Linked DNA regions of Homo sapiens: region 1 is linked to region 2. The links are contacts of gene promoters, found by promoter capture Hi-C in human tissues and cell types (Jung and others, 2019). All regions are on one chromosome and are shown on one strand. Each heading gives the region's core, a stretch centred on a gene start or on the middle of the fragment in contact. The rest is flanking DNA. Distances are from core to core; before and after follow the strand shown.

The links. The method cuts DNA at HindIII sites, captures the fragments that hold promoters and counts their contacts. A contact is called where the count stands out against the background at its distance.
Region 1: a contact is called between a fragment that was not itself captured here and the fragment with the promoter of GRIK4 in region 2, in 2 of the 25 tissues and cell types used here (dorsolateral prefrontal cortex and lymphoblastoid cells).

What each region holds. Positions count from the first base shown.
Region 1 is chr11:121,121,629-121,127,651 of GRCh38, forward strand. TBCEL-TECTA (TBCEL-TECTA readthrough) reads left to right here. Exons shown (of 30, transcript NM_001378761.1): 14 at 3,674-4,244. It overlaps TECTA (tectorin alpha), which reads left to right. Exons shown (of 24, transcript NM_005422.4): 8 at 3,674-4,244. Among named protein-coding and RNA genes, the nearest start is that of TECTA, 23 kb to the left of the region's middle. The HindIII fragment of the contact is 9,664 bases long and covers 1-6,023 here.
Region 2 is chr11:120,510,044-120,516,154 of GRCh38, forward strand. It overlaps GRIK4 (glutamate ionotropic receptor kainate type subunit 4), which reads left to right and starts at 1,705. Exons shown (of 21, transcript NM_014619.5): 1 at 1,705-1,844. RefSeq lists silencers at 1,316-1,395, 1,576-1,775. The HindIII fragment of the contact is 7,551 bases long and covers 1-5,754 here.

The sequences.
Region 1 (6,023 bases), core at 794-3,293, 610 kb after region 2:
ACCCAGGTGTCAGGTCAGCCTGAGTGCGACAAGAACAGAGGCAGGGAAACTGGCGTCCTGAGGGTTGTGATGGTGGGGGGACTGTAGAAATATCCAGAACCAGCCTACCCCATGGCTTCTGCTTTGGGACACAATAAGACTTTGTCCCTTGCTAGCAGGAGCTTAAGTAAGAGCAGAGGAGCCCATTCAGCAGTTGACGTATTTGACATTCATAATTATACCAACATTGGGGAAGATTTCCCCTTCCACTTACCAGCACAGAACAATGGATAAGTGTTCAGCACTCTTACTAGCTGACCTTCCCTATAATATGGCTCTTCTCTCCCTTTTTTCTTAGGGTAGGAAAAGCCATATTATAGGCAAGGTCACCTAGTAAGAGTTGGCTAACCCTCTACCTAGGAGACAAGAATAAATTAATCAACTCCTTGGTTTTTCTTTCTACTTCTAGCTCTCTGCAGGATGGTTTATTTCTCAAGCTTATTTTCTTATTCCCTTCCCCCATTGCTATGATCTAAATATTTGTGTCCCCTCAAAATTCATATGTTGAAATTCTAACTCCTAAGGTGATGGTATAAGGAGGTGGGACCTTGAGGAGGTGATTATGTCATGAGGGTGGAGCCCTTATGAATGGGATTAGTGCCCTTAGAAAGGAGGCCAGAGGGAGCTCATTTCTTCTTTCACCATATGTGAACACAGCTGGAAGGTGCCATTTATGAACCAGAAAGTGGGCTCTCGCCAGACAATGAATCTGCTAGCCCCCTGACCTTATACTTCCCAGCCTCCAGAACTGTGAGAAATAAATTTCAGTTGTTTATAAGCTACCCAGTTTATGGTATTTTGCTCTAGCAGCCCAAACAGACTAAAACAGAAGATTGGTACCAGGAGTGGGGTGCTGCTGTAATAAATACCTAAAAATGTGGTAGCAGTCTGGGCACGGCGTCTCACACCTATAATCCCAGCACTTTTGGAGGCCAAGGAGGGCAGATTGCTTGAGCTCAGGAGTTCAAGACCACCCTGGGCAGCATGGCAAAAGCCTGTCTCTCCAAAAAAAAAAAAAAAAAAAAAGAAAGCCAAAATAGCCAGGTGTTGTGGCATGCACCTGTAGTCCCAGCTACTCAGGAGGCTGAGATGGGAGGATCACTGGAGCCAGAGAGGTTGAGGCTGCAGTGAGCCACGTTTGTGCCACTGCACTCCAGCCTGGGAGACAGAGCAAGACCCTGTTTCAAAAAAAAAAAAAAATGGTAGCAGCTTTGGGTAATTGGTAGAGGCTGGAAGAGTTTTGAAGTACATTCTAGCAAAAGCCTACATTGTAGTGAATGGACCATTAAGGGTGATTCTGGTGAGGACCAACTACTAATCTATAGAGACAGAGAGCTGCATGTGGCGCCTGCCACGGTAAATTTTGGAAGGGATGCTCAGACCATCATCTCATCGCCTAGACAACTCAGAAAGTAGCAACAATGATGACAGGTAAGAGTGCCAGACAGTCTCATGTGCCAGAAATCAGTGTGGGTCCAGGACACCCTGGAAAGTTTATGTGCACTTATAGTCAAGCCCACCGAGGACTGTTCTAAGACAAGTCATTCCATTCCAGCCCATGAGCATGGATGTCCATAGGTGCTAGGCATAGTAAGTGTGAAAAAGAAAATTAATTCTCTCTCTTTGAGGCTTATCAAGCCACTTACTCACCCGTACTAGATGCCTGGGGCTCACTCTTGATTATTCCCTCATTTCTCATGCCCCATTGCAAAACCACCACGTCCAGCTGTGTGTGTTCTATAAGCTCATCCCTCCCTCTCATGTCTGCAGCTAGTTTAGGCTTTCATCCTCATCACCTCCCTGGACTCCTGCAGCAGTTGCCTGTCTGGCTTCTCTGTTTCTAATCTCAACTTCCTTCAATAATTTCTTCACGCTAGCCAGAAGGAGCTTTCTAAAACACAAATCTGGTGATGTCATTCCCTTGCTTAAAAGCCTTCAAGGGCTCTCCCTGCAGAATAGAAATCCAACTTTTGTTTTGTTTTTAACATGGCTTAAAAGGCCCTCCAAGACCTGTTCTCAACACAAAAGCCAGAGCAATTCTTTTAAAGCAGAAGTCAGATCGTGCGGACTTTTTGTTTTAAACACTCCCTGGGCTCTCCATCTTGCTCAGAGTCAAAGCCAAAGTCTTTACAATGGCTGACGGGCCCTGCTTGTTCTGGCTGCTCTTCTCACTCTGACGTCATCTATTGCTGCCCTCTCCTGCTGTCTCTCTCCAGCCACGTCCCCTACACCCCTTGTAATCCTGGGAGTGCCCAGGTATGTTCCCAACCTAGGGCTGCTGTTCCCTCCTCAAGAGCCACTCTCACCCTAGATAACCACATGGATTTCTTCCTTATCTCAGATGTCTCCTTCCCAAGGAAGTCTTCCCTGACCATCCTATTTAAAATTAGAAACACTTTTCCTTAGCACTTTTTAGAAAAGTATTTCCTGCTCTTTATTTTTCTGCATTAACACTCATCTGACATGAGTTTTACTCATTTATTTTGCTTGTTGTTGGTCTCCCCAGCTAAAATGTAAGTTCCACGAGGCAGAGATTTCTGTTCATTTCACTTGCTGCTAATCCCCAACTCTTAGAACAGTGCCAAGTACATAGAAAGGCATAAATGCGTATTTGTAGAATGAATGGACCTTGCCTGTACCTCCAGCCTCATCTTCAGCCATCTCTTCCCTCTGTAGTCCAGTAACACCTCAGTGTCTGCCCCCCAACCCCACCCAGCTGTTCCTCACCCTCCTGCCTCTGCTCTCTTGTCCTGGATTTCTCTGCCCTTCCCCCACTCTTCCTTTGGCCACTTCTGTTTATCTTTAAAGACCCAGGTTAGACTTAACTGCTTCTAAAAAACTTATGTGATTCCCCTATGCTGGATTCAATGTTCATTTACTGCTCTCCCATTTTATCCTCTATTGACTCACAGTTAAAGAGTATGCTGTAAGTATCGATGCATGTCCCTCTTCTTCAGCAGACTGAGGGCTCCTTGAGGGGCAGGGGCAATTATGTTTTTTAACCCTTTACATCTCAGTTCCTGACATAGTGCTTGGTACCTAGCAGGTGTTTAATTGTGTTGTTGTTGAATGGTTACATGACGTAGTTCTGATACAAGGAAGTTACAGAGTACAACACTTGGAGAATACTACATCAGGACAGCCTCAAAGCTAAATGGTGTCCAGCAGTGGACCCAGCACACACTCGAGCTGAGAGTGGGGTGAGGAGGACTAAAGGCAGGAAGGGGGTCCTGGAAAATGCATGACTTAAGCTGAGACTTAAAGAATGGATATTTAGAGGAATGCAGAGGAAAAGGGAGGTGACTGGTCTTTGAAGAAAAGATATGAAGCTAGCCAAGAGCCAGCCAGGAAATGTTGACAACCACACAGTCCCCAGAGGAGTCCGTAGTGGCACTCTGTATGCCACAGCAATCACAGCCCATATACACAGTGCGTGGGCTGGCCCACAAGCAGCTCTCTCCATTTCCCCCCCGGCCTTTGCCTTAATCAGAGGGAAGCCCACTGGAGCCTGGACCGTTTAGGTGGCCATTCTCTCTGGAGTGTTGAGTTGCTTTGCCTTCCTTTCCTGATCTCTGCTGGAACCCAGTGCCTGGGCACCTGCTCACCTGCCTTTCACTATTACTGTTGTTGGCAGGTTAATGACCTAGTGACTTCTTTGCCTGTCACCTTAGACTTGGGGACAGTGAAAATCTACCAGAGTGGCATATCTACTGCCGTGGAAACAGATTTTGGGCTCTTAGTGACTTTTGATGGCCAGCACTACGCCTCCATTTCCGTCCCAGGCTCCTATATAAACTCCACCTGTGGACTCTGTGGAAACTATAATAAAAACCCACTGGATGACTTCCTCCGCCCGGATGGCAGGCCGGCCATGTCTGTCCTGGATCTGGGAGAGAGCTGGCGTGTGTACCACGCAGACTGGAAGTGCGACTCCGGCTGCGTCGACAACTGCACCCAGTGCGACGCTGCCACTGAAGCCCTCTACTTTGGCTCTGACTACTGCGGCTTCCTCAACAAGACAGACGGCCCTCTGTGGGAGTGTGGCACTGTCGTGGACCCCACTGCTTTTGTGCACAGCTGCGTGTATGACCTGTGCAGTGTGAGGGACAATGGCACGCTCCTCTGCCAAGCCATCCAGGCCTATGCTCTTGTGTGCCAAGCCCTTGGCATTCCAATTGGAGACTGGCGAACCCAGACTGGGTGTGGTAAGCTGGCATCCCATCCCCATGACAGGTCTCTCTTGTGCAGGGGGCAGGGATAGGCTTTGGGGGCTCCTCCAAATGTCCTTGTTAAGACTTGTGACCCAAGAATGAGGGGGAGGTTGAAATTGCACAAATTACAAAGAACGAATTGTGAAAGGATCTTTACTTTTGCCCCCACCTAATACCACAACCAGGAAACAAGAACCCATTGATGAACATACATGGTCTGGAAACATGAAAGGCATGGCAGGAAGTCCCACAGCAGGGGACGGCAGCTCCAGAGTTGAGTGAGGAGGTGGGTTGTCCAGAGGTGGAGGTGGCTACTTTTGTGGCTGTTGAGTTAATGCAGCTGTGGGCCTGGGTCATCAAAACTAGCCCTTGGGAAAATAGGTCACCTTCCACATGGAACCTGTAGCAATTGTTCCTGGCACTTTCTTCTCCACTGTCAGACCCTTAAGGGTTTGTGCCCTGCTGCTGCTGCAGATGAGGAGTACAGCATATGAGTAAAGAAGCCCTTTTTCTTAAATATTAGGAGTGGTTAGGAAAAGCCCCAACTTTGAGGGAAATCCTGGCTCTTTTGAATTACACTTTTGGATTAAGCATTTTGTACCATTTAATTGTCTTAGTACTTTTTCCCTGTATCCCACTTAAAATTTATTTCTTTTTCTAGTTATACACAGTTTAAAAACAAATAGATTTCGTTTCCTTCCTAGTCCTTGGTTTTCTCCATATGAGTAAATAGAAAATTGTAATCCATGCATTTGAGAGTGCTAGGGAGGTGAGAAGATTTAAAAGTTTCTTTAAGTTCCAAGGCTAGAGGGAGAATTCTTCCCATCAGTATAAGTTGGAGTCACATAAACCATAATGTATCAGGTTCAATTCTTAAGAGTTTTGGTCAAACTACAATACAAGCAACTGTATTCTTGCTGTGTGACTGACCAGCCTCTCTTATGACCAGAGCATCCATATTTGGATTCAAGTTGAGATTGAATATGGCTTCTCTTTGATCCTTACAAGAGCATCCAAATTACCTGACTAAAATGTTACAATGGCCACAGATATATATTTTCTAGTGGCACTACTTTCCCATCCTCTACATTTCGCTTTCTTTTCTGGCTCAATGGACTCTGTTTAATTCAGAGAGCTAGTTTGCTAGGCCCCTGAGCCCCTGCTTGTTGGATTCAACCAGACTCAAACATTTATGTAGACCCAGATGTTATTAAAGCAAGAACCGAAGATTTCTAAGGCAAGAAGGGCCTTTAGAAGACATCTTACCTTGTCTCCTGGAGAAACAGCCACACAAATTCTTTGAATTCTTTGGAGGTAGCCAGGGCGCTTTCTTATTTTTAATATCCCAGGGAATTCATCCCCACAGCCTTCCTTGGTCACACTTAGGTATTTTAAGTGCCTCCCTGTTACAAATTTCACGTTTTCAAATTACTCCTCTAATGGTTACATTTTTCATTTCTCCTGAAAATTGGATTTATTTCCTTCTAAGAATGGACCATGCTCTTTAAAATCAGATCAATTTATATGTCCATCAGTGGAAGGTCTTAAAATATCTCGGTAGTGTGGATCATCAAATAATAAACCTATATTGGGTAATCAGTAGTCTAGAAAGGATGGCATCCTGAAAGTTTAATTTTAGTCAAGATGATCAAATTCCAATAGAAGTTCACAGTCCAATCATGCTGCTCAGTAGTTATTAGGAGAGTCATTGAGCTGGGTTTTACAGATACAACCTCAATTCTGTCTTCCCCGAGTGGCCGCTTGACCCTCACT
Region 2 (6,111 bases), core at 455-2,954:
CATGCTTGGCATTTCAGAGTTTGCGCGGCTTGAGAGATCATCTAGTCTGCTTCCCTCACTTTTAGAGTTATGGGAACTGAAGTCCAGGGAAGTGAAATCGCTTGCTGGGATCACAGGGATGCCTCTCCCTCCTCCCAGCCCCGTACACTTTCTGCTAGGCTTATGCTGCTGTTCCGTCCATTTTGCACAAGAGAGGGGGTTCCAGAGTGGGGGAATAGAGTTGGAATTAGAAATTAGTTTTGTGTCACTGGCTTACAGGTGCTCTTAAACCTTAACAGGTTTAACATCCTCTGTAAAATGGGACTAGTGTCACCTCAACACCTACCTTGCAAAGTTGATTATTGGGAATCACACTTGTGTAAGCGGTATAGTCTTGGCAAACAGTAGGTGCTAAATAATGTCTGGCTGGAGGAATGGAGCCCTGTTCGCATATGGCATTCATCCAGCCAGTGTGTGGAGCTGGGGGAGGGATAGGCACGACTCCTGAAGCAGGAGGCCCAGTACGCGCCCAGGCTAGCCAGCCAGCCCTCCCCGGGGAATGCAACGTCCAGAACAGTCTATAGTCCCGATAGTATGCCTCATGCGTGAGACCTGACCAAGGACGTCTGTGAACAAACCCTTCACAGAGAGCTTAATGAGATTGTGGGAGTGCTGGTGGTTGGGTGTGGGGATACAGGCCATTGAAGGTGAGAGGGCCGGTGTGATCAGTTTGGTGGTCTGCCCAAGACAGAGACTCTGCGGGTTGGATAAGAGGGAGCTAATAGGTTTGAGGGGGTCACGTGTCCCTTGCCCTCCCTCCTATTCCCCCAGGACTCCCTCTTCACCCAGCCTCCTCCTAAGGGCAACTCTGTTGTATTAGGATGAACCACACGGTGTACTGAAATGAACCGCGCGTCAGAAAGCGGGGTTGCCTCCTGGGTCCTGCCACTTGCTCCCCGTGTGTTCTTGGCCTGGTCCCTTCACCTCTCCTAGCCTCAGGATCTTCATGCGTAACATGAGATCCTCCCAAGATGTTGGTATGTATACAACAGTGCTCTGGAATGACTCCATGCAAGCTGTTGCTCTTCAGTCTCCTGAACAAGGTGCTCTTGTCTCGTCCCATGAAACCTCCACCTCTCCATCTTCCGCACCACTGAGGCCGCAGTCTCTTCTAACGGGGCACGCTCGTCCCCCGCGCTGTTTCCCGAATGCCACCAGGGGGCGCCCCTTGCTCGCTGAAGCCGCCGGGCTAATAACTCCTCGGGGCCGGGGCGGGCTGCCCCTTTGCGCAGGGCGGTGGAGTGTGCGGGCTGCGCCGGGTTCCCCACCTGAGGTCCGTACCTCGCAGAGCCCGCTTGGCCGCGCGCCCCTAGCCTCTGCCGGGCGCCGCTCCCCAGCCGGGCGCCTCTCGCTCGGCCCCGGGCCCCCGGGCAGCCGCAAGTTTGCCCCCGGCCGCGCGGACCCGCGCCCGCCCTGCCCGCAGCAGCCCCCGCCGTTCCCGCCGCCCCCGCCGCCCCCGCGCCTGGGCTCCCGGGCGACGCTCCGAGGGGCGCTGGGGGGCGCGTGCAGCTGCCCGCGGGGCTCCGGCCCGGCCCCGAAGGGGCGCCCCCCCGGCCGGCCGTGCGCGGGGCCGCAGCAGTTCCCCAGCTGCCCGCCGGGCGGCGCCCCGCGCCTCGCTGCGCTCCTCCCGCGCTCCCCGCGCCGGGCTCGCTCGCAGCCGGACACAGACTGCCTTCAGCTGCGGGCGGATCGGGCTGGAGCCGCCACGGCTGCTGCGGAAGAGGAAAAACGGCCAACAGCAGCCCCGCGGCCGGCCCGGCAGCGCCCGGCCCCCGGCTCAGCCCCCGGAGTGCGGAGCCGACCAGGTAAGGGCAGCGGCCCCCCGCGGCGCCCCCGGCCCGCTCCCTGCGCTGCCCCCGCGCCCCCGAGTCCCCTCCGCGCTGGCCCTTCCCGCACCCCGACTTCTGACGTCTCCGCCGCTCCTGCCCTCGGGGGCCGCGGCCCCGCACCCCTGCCCCGGCCCCCGCCCCCGCGCCCTCCTCCCCGCTCCCGCCTCCCGCCAGCCCGGTCCCTGGCACTTCGGTCCCTGCGTCTCCAGATTCGCCGCCGAACCCCCCACCGCTCTGCTCCCGTAGTTCCTCCAGTCTTCACCCCGGTCCGTCTCCCTCCCTCCGCATCCCTTCCCCGGGCTCGCGGTCCTCCCGCTCTGGTCCTCCCCCTCCCCGTGCAACTCCCAGCCCTGCCTCTGTCCCCTGCAGGGATGACAGCCCCTTCCCAGCCTGGCGCGTCTCCCCTACACCTCGTCACCCTCCGCTTCTCCCAGCGCCTCTGTTCCCCGGCTGCAGCCCCCCATCCCGGCTCAGCCTGGCATCCCACCAAGCCCCCTCCCCCTTTCCTCACTGCCATCTGCCTCGACTGCCCCCTGCCCCTGCACTGGACTCGGGCCACCACCACACCCCCCCACCCTGCACACCGCCTTGCTTGGGGGAACCAGCGTCCTATCAGAAATGATCCTCTTTCCCGGGGAGAATGGGGCTCCCACCCATCCCACCCTAGTTCATCCGAGTGGGAAGTGAGGGAGAAACTCTAGAGACCTGCAATGGGCGCGTGATGGGGGAGGGGGCTGGGGCGGAGGGGGAGGGGAGCTGATTTAGATTCTCTTCAGTGAGGACTGGCAGAGCTGTGCGCTCCGACCTGGCTGGGGTGGAGGGCGTGCAGGCGACAGCTGGGACAGGGGGTTCAAGGCACTGAGAGCACCTGTGTCTCTTTCCCTGGCTCCCTTGAGCTGAGCAAAGTGAGGGGAGGAGTTGGAGCCTGGGGAGAGTTGGCTGAGGGCCTTGGGGTGGTGGAGGAGGCGGCCGAGGGGGCTGGGCCCCGGGCGCCTCTGGCCCGTCTGCCTGGCAGTGGTGGGGCAATGCGGGCCGAGCCACTCCCGGGCTGGACCTTGGGCTGCGTGGCTCTTGGCATCTGTACTTGATGCTGCCATCTTCCTCTTGGTGCTGTTGTCTGGTGATGCCACGCGGTGCCACCTCCCTGCCTCCCTCCAGTGGCTCTCCTGGGCATGTCTCCCAAGGGTCTGGGTTGTCTGGGAAGAGGAGGGGAGCTCTGAGCACAGCTGGGCCCTTTTGCCAGGCAGTGGGCAGCTGTCAAGACCAGGCCAAGAGGTCTGAGGGCTGGTCAGGAGGACTGAGCCCTGCCAGGAACAAAGAACTACCTTCACTTTCACTCCCTATGGGTCACCTGGTTGGTAGTGACACTTCTAGGAGCACCGGGAAACTGCGGGCGTGGTATCTCCGGGGAGAGAGGCCGCCTGGGTTGGTAGTGGGCATCTGAGAGACAAATCCGGTCCTGCCTGACTCCCTGACTGTCTGTGCTCGCGTGGTCAGGGGCGAGGGGCTTGTCGAGGTCCACTGTGTTCCGGTCCCACCAGGGATGGCAGCCCCTGGAATTCCACTGGGCGTCATCATGCTGGCTTTATTTGCTGAAGCTGCAGCTCAGGCTTCATCATTAATCAGGTTTATTATTTTTCTCACTGGCCAGATGTGTTCCTCAAGGTCACGACCCTTCGGAGAGTTAATCTAATATGCACACATTACAGTGTCTGGGTTTGTTTAATTTTCCATATTTTGTTCATTCCTTGTGGCCCGGGCTTGCCCACCAGCCTCCCGCCTGCCTCACCAGCTCCACCCCTCTGTCCTCCTCTGGACCTGCCACCTGAAACCCAGAGGCAGCACTGGTCCCTCCGGGTGGGGAAGAGGTGGATGCTCGGGAGGGGAGGTTGAGAGGGGATCTTGGTTTTCTGTGTTTTTCCCATCCCCCTACCTGGGCATCTTGATCGGTGGCTGCTGTCTTCCCCAGCAATGAAAATTCTTCCGAGAGCCTGGGTCGGCTTCGTGGTCTGATTTCCACTTTGGTTTTCCCTTAGGATGGAGAGGGAACTTTAGTACCGGGAGAGAGGCAGAGACTCTAGGAGAAAGTCCCAGCTGCAGGGAGTCAGGGCATCCAGGAGAGAGGAGCTCAGCTGCTTCTGAGGTGGTTCTCAGCCATCCAGAGATGGAAGGGAGGACAGGGGGACCGGCCCTGGGTTGGGGGAGAGACTGCTCAGAAGGCAAGAGAAGCAGCGAGGCGGAAGCTGGCCTTTGTGTGGCTGGCGAGGGTGGGCAGCGCCAAGCGTGTGTGGGAAGGATGCATCTCTTGGTGCTTCTGCATAGTACTAATCCCTTATGTGTGTATGGGGTTCTGCAGCATTCCAGATGCCTCTCAGAACAATTACTTCATTTGATCTCTACTACAGCCCTGCAAGCATCTGATCGCTCCTTACAGACAGCCTTATAAGGAGGCATTCATGACCCAACAGAAACTGAGGCTCAGAGAGGCTGGATGCCTCATCCAAGGCTCCACAGCTGGGTCCCAGGCCCCTGGACGCTCAGTCCAGTGCTGTTGGGCTCGTTGCTGTTGCTTTTTAAGGTCTCAGCTGTTTGGTTCTCAGAAAGCCCACCCTTGGTCCTGCCTGTTCCTCAGTTCATCCCCTTCGCCCTCTCCAGTGATGGCTCACCGTTTTCACCCCCACCCCAGGCCTGGTGGAGTCTTTGCTCTGTAGTCTCCTCAGCCTTAGACTGGCTGCCTGGGTGTCCCGCCACTCCCTAGACCCAACCAACCACCCCCTACCCCAAGTGGGCACTGCCTCTTGCCTCCTCCTTGTGGAAAGAACGGCTGGGTTCCCCCAGGCATGCAGCCGGGGTGCCTGGGGCACCCTCCTTCCCTCTCTCTGGTGCCTTAGGCCTCAGCCCACTCAGTTCTTCTGGGCACTTCGAGTGTCCACTCCGACCTTTGCTCTCCCACTGCCGTGGTCCCTACTTGGGCCTTTGGCTGTTCACCCTGAGTTACGGTCCTGAAAGCTTCCTTGTTGGGCCTCCAGCCTCAGTTTCCAGCCATCCTGCCGCTGTGCCTGTCTTCTTACAGAGGGTAACGCTTCTCACAGGGGACCCTGTCTCAGCAGCCGTCAGTGGCAGTGCCTTCCAAGATGCCTTGCAGGTGAAGGCCCTCTGCACGCTGACCCCAACTTTATGTCACAACGTGGTGTCTGGCATGATCTTGTCCCCCCTCCCCTGGCCACCCAGCCCTGGCACTGTGTGTCCTCACCCTGGCCCTTTGCATTTCCTCCTCTTTTCCTCCCATCCATATATTGCCCAGCCTTCAAGGTGCTGCTGGAAGAGGAACCAGTTCCAGCTACCAAGTATCAGGCAGACCTGGGTTCCTGTCCTCACATCACTCCCTGCATGACCTCGGACAAGTTGCCTCACCTCTCTGAGCCTCACTGCCCTCACCTGTAAAATGGGGACTCTGAGCCTCACTGGCCTCACCTGTAAAATGGGGATAAATCTCACCTGCTTCAGAGGGTTAGCAGCATGGAATGTGAGTGGGAGTGTGACTCGTCCAGTGTGAAGGGCACCTGCATGGGTATGGAGGGCACATTCTCTGAGTGGCCGCCTTCTGCTCTCCCTCTGTATGGGCTGGCTGAGCCCCCTGCTCCTACCTGGTATTGGTAATCGTCTGTCCGTTTGTCTCCCCACCCAGAGGGCAGATTCCTGGAGGAGCAAGGCCTTTGCCTGACACCTTTTCACATTCTCTGACTCCCAGCAGAGCGAGGCTGTTCTTCAACATCCTGTAAATCGGCCCTCTTCATAGTAAGGACATAAGATATAGTTGTTGCTTGATTATAACGTTCTGTTACATAAAATAGGGTATGCCTTACATTTAGTAAATCCAGTATGAACAAAAAACTTATGCCACAGTTGCAGGCTGGGTAAATTATGGGAAGGAAGGAAGGAATCAATGTAACATTGTATTGACTGCGTACTCCGTTTGTTTCGCTCAGTCAGTCCAGCTACCCGGCGAGTTAGCTGTGGGCATCTCCTTTTCCACAGATGAGGAAGGGAGTCCCAGGAGGTCACACACTCTGTCCCACATCCCAGACTGGTGAGTGCGGTAGGACCCCAGCTTCTTCCCCTACACTTGGGCATCCTCTGCCTTAAAAACCAAGAGGGAGACACTTTTTGATTCATCACAGGTTTTCTTTAAACAACTGAGCACTCAAGTCATTTACACAGAGCCCAGCAGGGATGGGGCGGT